Linked DNA regions of Homo sapiens: region 2 is linked to region 1. Evidence: promoter capture Hi-C in human tissues and cell types (Jung and others, 2019). All regions are on one chromosome and are shown on one strand. Each heading gives the region's core, a stretch centred on a gene start or on the middle of the fragment in contact. The rest is flanking DNA. Distances are from core to core; before and after follow the strand shown. Region 1 holds the start of ARSF (arylsulfatase F). Region 2 overlaps ARSD (arylsulfatase D).

The links. The method cuts DNA at HindIII sites, captures the fragments that hold promoters and counts their contacts. A contact is called where the count stands out against the background at its distance.
Region 2: a fragment that was not itself captured here is called in contact with the fragment with the promoter of ARSF in region 1 in 1 of the 25 tissues and cell types used here (pancreas).

What each region holds. Positions count from the first base shown.
Region 1 is chrX:3,039,112-3,046,228 of GRCh38, reverse strand. ARSF (arylsulfatase F) reads right to left here and starts at 4,758. Exons shown (of 11, transcript NM_001201539.2): 1 at 4,566-4,758. The HindIII fragment of the contact is 6,572 bases long and covers 1-6,278 here.
Region 2 is chrX:2,909,118-2,915,566 of GRCh38, reverse strand. ARSD (arylsulfatase D) reads left to right here. Exons shown (of 10, transcript NM_001669.4): 6 at 1-11; 7 at 4,774-4,908; 8 at 5,588-5,750. Among named protein-coding and RNA genes, the nearest start is that of ARSD-AS1, 7.4 kb to the right of the region's middle. The HindIII fragment of the contact is 3,631 bases long and covers 549-4,179 here.

The DNA.
Region 1 (7,117 bases), core at 3,509-6,008:
TCTTCCCTTTTCTTTGTCACCACGTGTACAGTAAAAAACCAGAGGCCAGGCGCAGTGGCTCACGCCTGTAATCTCAGCACTCTGGGAGGCCGAGGCGGGCGGATCATCTGAGGTTAGGAGTTCGAGACCAGCCTGGCCAACATGGTGAAACCCCGTCTCTACTTAAAAAAATACAAAAATTAGCCAGGCGTGGTGGCACATGCCTGTAATCCCAGCTACTCAGGAGGCTGAGGCAGGAGAATTGCTTGAACTCGGGAGGCAGAGGTTGCATTAGGCCAAGATCACGCCACTGCACCCCAGCCTGGGCAAAATGAGTGAAACTCCGTCTCAAAAAACAAAACAAAACAAAACAAACAAAAAAAACAGGCGACATGGCACTAGCCAGGTAAAGAGTCCATCTGCATAATAAAAGATTAGGCACCGAGGTGGGCAGATCACCTGAGGTCAGGAGTTTGAGACCAGCCTGACCAACATGGAGAAACCCCATCTGTACTAAAAGTACGAAATCAGCCAGGTGTGGTGGCAGGCACCTGTAATCCCAGCTACTCAGGAGGCTGAGGCAGGAGAATCACTTGAACCCGGGAGGTGGAGGTTGCAGTGAGCCGAGATGGCGCCATTGCACTCCAGCCTGGGCAACAAGAGCAAAATTCTATCTCAAAAAAAAAAAAAAAAAAGATTAGCCCAGCTTTTCATGCCCTATGCAAATGACACATCTAGTCCTAACCAGCTTTACATGCCCTATGAAAATGGTACACCTGGTCCAACCAATCTTTTGCGTCCTATGTAAATCATACACTGCCTCCTCAAGCTCATCTATAAAACTTGCTGCATTTCAGCAAAGAAGCAGCAACCCACTTCTCCAGGACCCCGCTCTGCTGCAGAGAGCTCTTCTCTTTCTTTTGCCTACTAAACTTCTGCTCTCAACCTCATTCTGTGTGTCCACGTCCTCGATTTCTGTGGCCATGAGACAATGAATCTCGGGTATTTACCCCAGAAAATGATGCCACTTCATTACCATGTGTGACCACGTGGCCACCCAAAAGTCAAAGGTTTCTCATTCCCCACCTCTTTATTTTTCTCTTTCTCCAATGAGTTTTATCTACATAATTTTCCATTTATTTTAAAGTGACCTTTAAATAGCCTCTAAACATTACATTTTCTTTGGCAAAAACCACATCTTTGTGTTTTTATAAACCTCACCAAAAATACATCTTACTCTCCTACTATTCCAACTCCCAGTAACCCTAATTTCCAGTGCAAAACCTAGGATTGCCTAATTTAATCTAACATTGATACAGGATGGCTGGGCTCCCGGCTAAACTACAACCTCAAGTCTGGAAGCTCGGCCCTAGTGAAAGCAGCTGACCTCGTTTCTCTGCCCAGATGATTGCCTTTTTGGCCTGCCCTGCCCCCTATCCTGTGCCCATAAGGACCAGACCAGCTGGCAGGAAGAAAAACGAAAAAGAAAAAGAAAAAAGCAACACAAGCAGCTGACCGGCAGGGATACAAGCTACTGAGTGGCGAGCAGAGAAGTAACTGAGCATTGGAGACTACAGATAAACATGACTAACTTCAGACGGTGTGGTTTTGGAGGGGAGCCCAGCCAGAGAAGGCTAGGCTTCAGAGAAACATCACCTTCTTCACACACCATCCCCTTTCCAGCTCCTCTTCCACCAAGAGCCACTTCCACTGCTCAATAAAGTCCTCCACATTCATCATCTTTCAGTTTGTGTGACCTGATGATTCTTGGACACCAAACAAGAAGTCGGTGTCCAAAAGGACAGATGCAGAAGGCTGTCACCTTGACCCTTCACTGAGCTGTTAACACATAGCTGTCCACAAACTGCAGGCTGAGTAACATGAGCCACTCCAGTTCCTGCCCACGAAGGGGGTCAAGGTCAGGGGAACAGTCCCATCTAACGTGACTCTAAGATTTTAAACCACTGGACAGGATTTTGAAATTAAATTTACCAAATTAGTCTTACCAAAGATTACTAAAGGAATGTCAATTAAAAGCATCTGAGCTAGCTTTTGGTTGTCTGATAAGCACTTACTTTTCTTTAAGCCATTTGATTAGAGCTCTTTCATATAATTTGGTACTGAAATATTACTTCCTCATGACAGATAGAAACTTACAGACAAGGCCAGGCATGGTGCCACACGCCTGTAATCCTAGCACTTTAGGAGGCCAAGACGGGTGGATCGCTTGAGCTCAGGACTGAGACCAGCCTGGCCAACATGGCAAAACCCCATCTCTACATAAAAAATACAAAAAATTAGCTGGGCGAGATAGTATGCACCTGTGGTTCCAGCTACATGGATGGCTGAGGTGAGGCAGGAGGATCCCTTGAGCCCAGTGCTCAAGGGAACAGTGAACCAAGATCACACCACTGCGCTCCAGCCTGGGTGACAGAGTGAGACCCTGTCTCCAAAATAAACAAATCAATCAAACAAACAGACAATAAATAAACTTATAGACAGACACACAGATAGAGGCACATCCTATAACATTTTTCACTTGCCTGTTTTCAAAAATTCTCTCTCTTCCTTTAGACTATTAATTTTTAAAAAATTACGGGAGCCAGCAAAAGTTGAAGGAGAGAGTTACCATCCCAGGCCTTTTCAAAAGAGGGAAAGCTCTGAGGCAAGCAGGATGCAGCAGAAGTGGAACCCCTAGGATGTCCATCTGAAGAATTTCAAGAAGAGATTATGGAATTCAAAAATAAAAAACTTCTTGCAATTTCACTGAGTACATCAGTATTTTAAGAAAATCTTGTTCTAACCAATGATCTCCTTTTGCATTACTGTATTTTTATTATTGAAGTCCAATACCTAGAATGATTATAATTTCCTTTTAGTTATAGCAAACTTAATTACATAAAAATTTTTTTGAATTCCTTTTTTACAGACTGTATTATGACTTGCACAGACCATATACAACCTGCTTGGATTTTCTGTTCTGTCCTAAACATCTCTCTTAAACAACAAGATTCTTTCTCATACAAAATTATTTTTCTTTTAACATTTCTTACCAAAAATACCTCCTTGTAACTTTCTTCTTCTTTTTTTTTGAGATGGAGTAGTCTCGCTCTGTCACCCAGCCTGGAGTGCAGTGGCACGATCTTGGCTCACTGCAACCTCTGCCTCCCGGGTGCAAGCAATTCTCCTACCTCAGCCTCCTGAGTAGCTGGGATTACAGGCACATGCCACCATGCCTGACTAATTTTTATATTTTTAGTAGAGGTGGGGTTTCACTGTGTTGGTCAGGCTGGTCTCAAACTCCTGACCTCATGATCCGCCTGCCTCAGCCTCCCAAAGTGCTGGGATTACAGGTGTGACCCAATGCACGCAGCCTAACTTTCTTTACATCTCTTGTTTCTTGGTTCCTTTTACCATATTTCATAAATAACCCTTAAATAAACCTAGAATCTGGCCGGGTGCGGTGGCTTGCACCTGTTATCCCAGCACTTTGGGAGGCTTAGGTGGGTGGATCACCTGAGGTTAGGAGTTCGAGACCAGCCTGGCCAACATGGCAAGACCCCTATCTCTACTAAAATTACAAAAATTAGCCAGGCATGGTGGTGGGCACCTGTAATCCCAGCTACAAGGGAGGCTGAGGCAGGAGAATCGCTTGAACCTGGGAGGCAGAGGTTGCAGTGAGCTGAGACTGCACCATTGCACTCCAGCCTGGGAGACAGAGCGAGGCTCCATCTCAAAAAATATAAATAAATAAACATGGAATTAGATGAAAATAACTTAGCTTTGAATAAGAACATATTTTTTAGAAAAGTTTTTCTATAATACAATTTATTTAAATTGAAAATGGCCCAGACATTTAGTGAATATCTATTATTTAACTTTAGATTCTAAATTATATTTATTTACAGGCATTTGTTTCATTACATTTACCTAATTAATTTTATAAAATCTTTTACCTAGATTATCTGTGAAAACTCTGATAGTCATCATTTAAAGTTATTTCCCTGTTAACCATTTTTATAGTCTATGAATTTTCTGTGTTTGCCTAAGCAAAAATTTTAAATATATATATATTTTACTGATAACTTGGGATTTAGCTCTTTTTACTACACTAATAACATTAAACGTCTTATTTCTCAAAAAGTACAGAAACAAAGATTATTGTGTTTCATGCTGGGTTGCTGGGTTTATAGTTTTGTAAGCCTTATGCCAAATTTTGACACCTTATAATATCTGTCAGAGGTAAATATGAAACTGCTTGATCAGTAAATGCAAACAAACATGTATGCTGACAATTTTTAAGATATTTCTAATACTATCGTACCAATAATTTTAAAGCCAGCTTATTTATTAAAGATTTATGTAAGTCACGTGAACTTGAAAAGCGTTTTGGCTTATTATTTAATTTATGAGTACTCTTTGACTTGAAGCCAATTTGACACTTCAGGGCTAAAGCACGTAAAAAATGTATATGTGCACACATATGTGCATGTACATAAACACATCTAAATACGCATGCACACTCACACAAAGATCCTATAGCTTTTACTTCAGAACTCTAGCAAGAGATATCAACACAAACTCACCAGTTTATACAAACAAAAAGGTTGGATCCCAACAGTGACTTCTATCTCAACAGCAGTGGAAAAGTAACAGAAGGGCCAGGAGTGGTGGTTCACGCCTGTAATCCCAGCACTTTGGGAGGCCGAGGCCGGCGGATCACTTGAGGTCGGGAGTTCGAGACCAGCCTGGTCAACATGGTGAGAGCCTGTCTCCACTAAAAATACAAAAATTACGTAGACGTGGTGGCGCACGTCTGTAATCCCAGCTACTGGGGAGGCTGAGGCAGGAGAATCGCTTGAACCTGGAAGGCAGAGGCTGCAGTAGATAGCGCCATTGCACTCCAGCCTGGGTGACAGAGCAAGACTCTGTCTCAAAAAAAAAAAAAAAGAAAAAGAAAAGAAAAGAAAAGAACAAAAAGTAAACAGAAGATTTAAAGTAGGCAGAAAAGAAAATAGCAAAATAGAGGACTTAGGAACTGATTGGTTGCAGGTTGACCTTTGGGCTGGAATTTTCTCTGGTGTAATGTGTGCAGCAGTTTAAAGTGTGAACAAGCACAGACATAATATGTAACAGGAAGCTTCTTGTTTGACCTGGCATGCCCTCAAGCTTTTCCCGCTTACACAAATACTTGCAAGTAGAGGAACCAGAGAACCAAAAGGGGTGCCCAAATGGGGGTCGCTCTCTCCGCCTTTCCTCATCCTTACATGCTATGTCTCCCACTTTTATTTTAAAATGAGGAACTAAACTGTGGCCTGGGTTTTAGTAGGGTGGATTGAAGTGTGCTGGCTGTGAGAGGGACTACACTGTGTGTCACCACTGAGTCTTTCTACCCTTTCACGTGTCTGAGTTTCTCTCTCCAGAGGTCTAGACCTCTGACAGGGCTCAACATAGCAAGTGATCAGCTCTTACACCTGTCTCCTGGATGAGCCTCTTAAAATTAATTTTGTTGTGTGGTTCCCTGTAGGGTCACTGCACATCATGGCAGGAGTCAATCCCCCAGAGACTCCCACTCAACCCCTACCACCCAGGGGTGGTTTTTGGCTAGGAGGAGCAAAACTCCCTTTCTTTTCCAAGCTGAGGAGGTCAGCCTCTCGTTTGGCAATTCAAAATTATGCCACAAAAGTGGCAGTTCAGTCTCTCACGCAAATGTACTCACAGGCCAATCGACATTAATTTGGGGGGAAAAGGGCAGTGGAGAAGACCATTTAGAATGCACCACCAAACCTAAAGTAGGATCCTATACAACAACTTCCTAGGAGAAAAATAAAAAGGAGGTAGAAAAACAGCTCAGAATGAACCAAGGACCATCAACCAAATGGAAGGTCCAGAGCTGCAGAGGACTCACCGGTTCCACTGGAGGAGAAACCTAAAGCCAGGGAGGGCTTCCAATGGCCCTGCGGGTAACTTAGCTCCGGGTTCGGGCAACTGCGTCAAGGATTCTGAGTCTTTTCTGAGGCCCCACGTGTAGGGCACCAATTAATGTCCATGAAAAGAGTCAAACTCTGTAAAATATTTGAAAAGAGTTATTCATTTAACCAATGGCTCACGACACAGCCCCAAGGAGGTCCTGAGAACAAGTGCCCAAGGTGGTTGGGTGACAGCTTGGCTTTATACAATTTACGGGGACAGGAGACATCAATCGACACATGTGAGATGTACATTGGCTTAGTCCAGAAAGGTGGGATTCCATTCAAAGTGAGGAACTTCCAGGTCGTAGGTGGATTCCAGGATTTTCTGATTAAAGACCTGTAATTAGTAGAAAGGAAATGTCTGGGTGAGGATAAGGCGTTGAGGAGACCAAAGTTTTTATTATGCACATGTAGCCCGCAGGTAGCAGGCTTCAGAGAAATCAGGTAGTAAATGTTTCTTATTAGACTTAAAATGGTGCCAGACTCTTGCTTAACCTTTCCTGGATCAGAAAAAATAATAATTTCACAGTGGAGAATTCCAACAGACACCACTTAATCCAGGTGATGAAATTTAACATCACCAGGACAGGACATACAGACATCATGCACTCCGTAACATGACACACTGAAAACTTACATCAATTCTGATGATTTTTTTGCCAAAAATGCATAACCTCAGTCTAATCATGAGAAAACACTGGACAAAACCAAACTGAAGGCTGGGCACAGTGGCTCAAGCCTGTAATTCCAGCACTTTGGGAGGCTGAGGCGGGCGGATCACCTGACATCAGGAGTTCGAGACCAGCCTGGCCAACAAGGTGAAACCCCGTCTCTACTAAAAATACAAAAACTAGCCGGGCGTGGTGGCAGGTGCCTCTACTCCCAGCAATTGTGGAGGCTGAGGCATGAGAATTGCTTGAACCTGGGAGGCAGAGGTTGCAGTGAGCCAAGATCGCACCACTGCACTCCGGCCTGAGGGATAAAGGAAGACTCTGTCTCAAAAAAAAAAAAAAAAACTGAAGAACAATCTATAAAATAATTGACCATTACTTAGATTGGATAGTGGAACAGAATCATATCAAATGCATCCATTTATTTTCAACATTTTGTTTGTTTTTAATTAAGCTGCCTCCTACACTACCGTATGTCCGGATTTTATGTTTATT
Region 2 (6,449 bases), core at 1,115-3,614, 130 kb after region 1:
CTGGCTCATAGGTAAGTCAAGGTACCATGGAGCCTCACTCCACCCTCGGCCTCAGGTTTGAACATAGGGCGTAACAGACTGGCCATCTGAATATGAACCAACTTGCAATAAAGAATAAGGGCGGTGGCTCACGCCTGTAATCCCAGCACTTTGGGAGGCCAAGGCGGGCGGATCACCTGAGGTCAGGAGTTTGAGACCAGCCTGGGCAACATGGTGAAACCCTGTCTCTACTAAAAATACAAAAACTAACCCGGTGTGGTGGTGCACACCTGTAGTCCCAGCTACTCGGGAGGTTAAGGTACAAGAATCGCTTTAACACGGGAGGCAGAGGTTGCAGTGAGTTGAGATCGCACCACTGTGCTCCAGCCTGGGTGAAAGATCAAGACTCCGTCTCAAAAAAAAAGAAAAAGAATAAGAGTTACTCTTAGCACTTTGGGAGGCCCAGATGGACAGATCACTTGAGGTCAGGAATTCAAAACCAGCTTGCACAACATAGTGAGACCCCATCTCTACAAAAATAAATGCTTAGCCAGGCATAATGGTACACGCCTGTAGTCCCAGGTACTCGGGAGGCTGAGGCAGGAGGATCGCTTGAGCCTGGGAAGTCAAGGCTGCAGTGAACTGAGATTGCACTGCTGTACTCCAGGCTGGGCAACAGAGTGAGACCCTGTCTCTTTAATAATAATAATAGTACAAAGAATGGGGGCAGAACACACTCCCATATCATTTATTTGCTTCTTCAGTATTCCCAATTACTTGGTCTAATTCTGCACAAAATCAACCTTCTACACAGCCAGTGACTTCATGTCATCATCAGAAGTTACCGAAAGTGAAGCGATAAAGTTAATGTTCAGGACAATGCAGACACGCTGTCTTCCTTCTATGGCCTTCAAGAAACCCTGGAGAGGACCAGTGAGGCTGCAGATTCTTAAAAGAGCATAGACATTAAAATTCTTGCAGAATCTGAATGTGTCTCCTGAGACAAGCATCGTGATAGAGTTCACAGTCTTAAAAGTCTGCATTTTCAGGTGGGGCAAGGTGGCTCATGCCTTTAATCCCAGCATTTTGGGAGGCTAAGGCAGGGAGATGGCTTGAGACCAGGAGTTCAAGACCAGCCTGGGCAACATAGTGAGACGCCCCCCCCCCCCATCTCTACAAAAAATTTAAAAAATTAGCCATGGTGGTGTGCACCTGTGGTCCCAGCTACTCCAGAGGCTGAGGTGGGAAGATCATTTGAGCCCAGGAGGCTGAGGCTGCAATGAGCTATAATTATTGCACCACTGAACTCCAGCCTGGGCCACATAGCAAGACCCTGTCTCCAAAAAAAAAAAGAAATAAAAGACGAAGAATAGGGAGAAAAACTTCTCTCATATCATTTATTTGGTCCTTCAGTATTTCTGATTACTTAGTCTAATTTTGCACAAAATCAACTGTATTAGTCCATTCTTGCAAAGAAATACCTGAGACTGGGTAATTTATAAAGAAAAGAGGTTGGATTGGCTCACGGTTCTGCAGGCTGCACAGGAAGCATGGCAGCATCTGCTTCTGGGGAGACCTCGGGGAGCTTTTGCTCATGGTGGAAGGCGAAGGGGGAGCAGGCGTCTTGTGGCAGGAGAAGGACCAAGAGAGGAGAGGAAGAGCCGCACACTTTTAAACAACCAGATCTCGTGAGAAGCTACTCCCTCCGCAGCACCAAGCGGGGGATGGTGCTCAACCATTCATGAGAACTCTGTCCCCATCATTCAGTCACCTCCCCCCAGGCCCCACCGCCGATTCTGAGGATGACAATTCCACATGAGATTTGGGCGGGGACACACATCCAAACTATATTGTCAACCTTCTACACAGCCAATGACTTAACAGCCTCATTAGAAGTTACAGAAACTAAAGCAATAAAGTTCGGACAATGCAGAGAGGTCACCTTCCTTCTATGGCCTTGAAGAAACCCTGGAGAGGACCAACGAGGCTGCAGATTCTTAAGAGAGTGTAGATATTAAAATCCTTGCAGAATCTGAACATATCTCCCGAGACAAGCATAGTGATAGGGCGGGATTGGTTCACAGTGTAAACCAAAAATAAATTCGAAGGCCCCCCACAACCATCTGAATGGATTCCCTCCTTTGCCAGGGCACCCTAAAATTTAACCTGAGAGACTGGTTCATGCCATAACGGGAAGAGGGGGTTGGGCTTGCCTCATTCTACCCCCCGCAGCATGAACATCCACACAGACCTTAACTCTGATAAGAAACATTTACAATCTATTTTCTCTGAAGCCTGCCACCTAGAGGCTTCATCTGCATGATAAAAGCTTGGTCTCCACAACTCCTTATCATAACCCAGACATTCCTTTCTATTGATAACTCTTTCAATCAGTTACCAATGAGAATATGTTTAAATTCCCCACTTCCAGTTGTTCCACCTTTCCAGCTCAACCAATGTACATCTTACATGTAGCGATGGATGTCTCATGTCTCCCTAAAGTATACAAAACCAAGCTTTGCCCCAGCCACGGTGGGCACATGTCATCAGGGCCTCCTGAGGCTGTGTCATTCTTAACCTTGGCAAAATAAACTTTCTAAATGGATTGAGACCCGCCTCAGATACTTTTCAGTTTACAGCAGGCTTCAAAGTCTGCATTTTCAGAGCTACAGATGACCTTGTGGTTTATATCATTTTGACTTTCAGTGCTTTCAATGACCAGTGGCCTCCAGGGATAAAGCAACTGCTTGGTTTGCAGGGCGTCCTCTGCGCTGCTGAGCCATCAGCCTCCAATACGCCAATGCCCATAGATGCTAGTTACAGCCCTGCTTCCTCCTACATAGGGTTCTGTCATCACTGAGTCTCACCATTTCCCTCTCCCCAGTGTCTTTATTATGTGACACACACACACGGCACTATGTTTAAAAAAGCGTGCTCACTGGCAACCTCTTGGCGTTGTGTGTTCATTCTGTGTTTTGTATTGGTGGTATCTTGGGGTCGACCGAAAGAGTCAAACTCCGTAAAATATTTGGAGAGATTTATTCTGAGCCAAATATGAGTGACAAGTGGCCTGTGACACAGCCCTCAGGAGGTCCTGAGAACATGTACTCAAGGTGGTCGGCATGCAGCTCAGCTTTATACATTTAGGGAGACATACGGCATCAATCAGCACGTGTAAGACGTACCTTGGTTCAGTGCAGAAAGGCAAGACCACTGAAAGGGGGGCTTCCAGGTCAAAGGCGGATTCACAGATTTTCTGATTGGCAGGTGGTTGAGTTATTATCTGAGAATCAATAGAAGGGAATGTCTGGGTTATGATAAGGGGTTGTGGAGGCCAAGGTTTCATAATGCCAAAGAAGCCTCCAGGTAGCAGGCTTCAGAGAGAATACATGGTAAATGTTTCTTATCAGACTTAAAGAGTCTGTTCTATCAGTCTTTTTTTTCTTTTTTAAACAGGGTCTCACTCTGTTGCCCAGGCTGGAGTGCATGGTGTGATCTTGACTCATTGCAGCCTTGACCTCCCAGGCTCAGGCAATCCTCCCACTTCGGCCTCCCGAGTAGCTAGGACTACATACAAGCATGTGCCACCATACCTGGCTAATTTTTGTATTTTTTGTAGAGACAGGGTTTCACCATGTTGCCCAGGCTGGTCTTGAACTCCTGAGCTCAATGGATCTTCCTGCCTCGGCCTCCCAAAGTGCTGGGATGACAGGCATGAGCCACTGTGCCTGGCCTTCTCTCAGTCATAGGTCTCTGTTTCAATGTGAATGCTGGTCAGTTGTGCCTGAATTCCAAAGGGAGGAGGGTATCATGACGCATGTCCACCACTCCCCCCGCCCCCACTACTTTCCAACATGGCCTGACCTTGTTTTTGTTTTTTGTTTCTTTTGGTTTTTTTTTTCTTTTTTTTTTTTTTTTGAGATGGAGTCTCACCCTGTCGCCCAGGCTGGAGTGCAGTGGTGCGATCTCGGCTCACTGCAAGCTCCGCCTCCTGGGTTCACACCATTCTCCTGCCTCAGCCTCCCAAGTAGCTGGGACTACAGTCTCCCGCCACCATGCCTGGCTAATTTTTTGTGTTTTTAGTAGAGACGGGGCTTCACGGTGTTAGCCAGGATGGTCTCAATCTCCTGACCTCGTAATCCACCCGCCTCAGCCTCCGAAAGTGCTGGGATTACAGGCGTGAGCCACCACACCTGGCCCTCTTTTGGGTTTTTTTTGAAACAGTCTCACTCTGTCACCCTCGCTGGAGTGCAGTAGTGTAATCTCACCTCACTGCAACCTCTGCCTCCTGGGTTCAAGCGATTCTCCTGCCTCAGCCTCCCAAGTAGCTGGGATTACAGGCGTGCACCCCCCACACCTGCCTAATTTTTGTGTTTTTGGTAGAGATGAGGTTTCACCATAATGGCCAGGCTGGTCTTGAACTCCTGGCCTCAGGTGATCCACCCACCTCAGGCTCCCAAAGTGCTGAGATTACAGGTGTGAGCCGCCAGGCCCGGCCTGACCTAGTTTTTCAGGTTAACTTTGGAATGGCCTTGGCTGAAGGGAGAGTCCATCAGTCGGTTGGGGGGCTTCGAATTTTATTGTTGGTTTGCATTGTAAACAGTCCTGTGGTATCACAGTGATTAGCTATGTCTTACACTTTGGGATCACATTGTAACCACGGCCTCCGAGTAAGTGTGGTCTCTTCTTATGACTTCCTGGCAAGAGGTGTCTCCTGCAGAAAGGAAGAAGCGCATTGAACTAGTGGATGCTGCTTTGTTTTCTTGGTCCTGAAACTTTCCATTTTCTGTAAAGGTAAGGTTCTTAATGCCATCGAAGACAATGGTTTAAAGAACTCAACATTCACGTATTTCACCTCTGACCATGGAGGACATTTAGAGGCAAGAGATGGACACAGCCAGTTAGGGGGATGGAACGGAATTTACAAAGGTGAGTTGTGGACATCGGGGACACATATGCATTCGACCAAATATCTGCCACCACTGAGGGTCCCAGAACAAGTTGAACTGAAAATGAGTTTGCTCATTTCAAAAAGAATGCATTGAGCACCTACTGTAGTACAAGTTCTACCTAGATGAGCAGGACAGGCAGATAAAAAGTCACATCCCCTTCCTTTAAAGGGTTTACATTTTAGTAGAATACAGAGAGGTATAAATAAATAATTCAGATAAAATTAAAATTTATTTTATTATAGTCTTAATTTTTAAATATTTAATAAATTTATTACTATTTTAATATTTTAAATGCATCAATTAATATTGATGCATAATAATACATATTTTAAAAATTATTGATAGTTAACAAACATTTTTAAATTATTAAATTTAATGAATATTTTAATACATTATTTTATTCTAAATAAAGGTAGCATAGATCGACTAGAACAGTTGAATCAGCCACAGCGACCCACCGATATTCAAGAGGCCAGGGAGTAGCATGATTCTGGAAATATTGCTGTGGCTGTTTTTGGGAAGCTGAGGCTGCCCCAGTGTGCATGTGTGCATCCGGGTGGCTGTGCGTATTCACATACCTATGCACAAATACATCCAGATGTGTGTACAGACTGGGCAGTTTCCGGCAAAATCCTAACGATGTCTTCTACTTACAGGTGGGAAGGGCATGGGAGGATGGGAAGGTGGGATCCGCGTGCCCGGGATCTTCCACTGGCCGGGGGTGCTCCCGGCCGGCCGAGTGATTGGAGAGCCCACGAGCCTGATGGACGTGTTCCCTACTGTGGTCCAGCTGGTGGGTGGCGAGGTGCCCCAGGACAGGTACGTGGAGATAAGGCTGCCTGTTCCCTGATTTTTTTTAATTGTTTTTAGTTTTTTTTTTTTATTTCAATAGGATTTTGGGGAACAGGTGGTATTTGGTTACATAAATAAGCTTTTTTTTTTTTTTTTTTTTGAGACAGAGTCTCACACTCTTGCCCAGGCTGGAGTGCAATGGCATGATCTCGGCTCACTGCAGCCTCCGCCTCCTGGGTTCAAGCAATTCTCCTGTCTCAGCCTCCCGAGTAGCTGGGATTACAGGCATGCGCCACCATCTCCTTTACCCATGTGGCCATGTGTCTTGGGGTCTGTTATGATTAAAAAGTAAGGACAGGTCGGATGCAATGGCTCATGCCGATAATCCTAGCACTTTGGGAGGCTAGATGGGCGGATCCCCTTAGGTCAGGAATTCGAGACCAGCCTGGCCAACGTGGTGAAACCCCATCTCTACAAAAAATACAAAAATTGGCCGAGTGTGGTGGCTTGTGCCTGTAGTCCCAGCTACTCAGGGGGCTGAGGCATGAGAATCACTTGACCAGGAGGCAGAGGTTGCAATGAGCTGAGATTGTGCCACTGCACTGCAGCCTGGGTGACAGAGCAAGACTCTGCCTCATAAAAAAAAAAAAGTAAGAAAAGCCAACCTAGGAATGTGGGCTGTCCAGCTGGAATTTGAAGGCTTTGTGTTGACCTCCAAGGTGACAG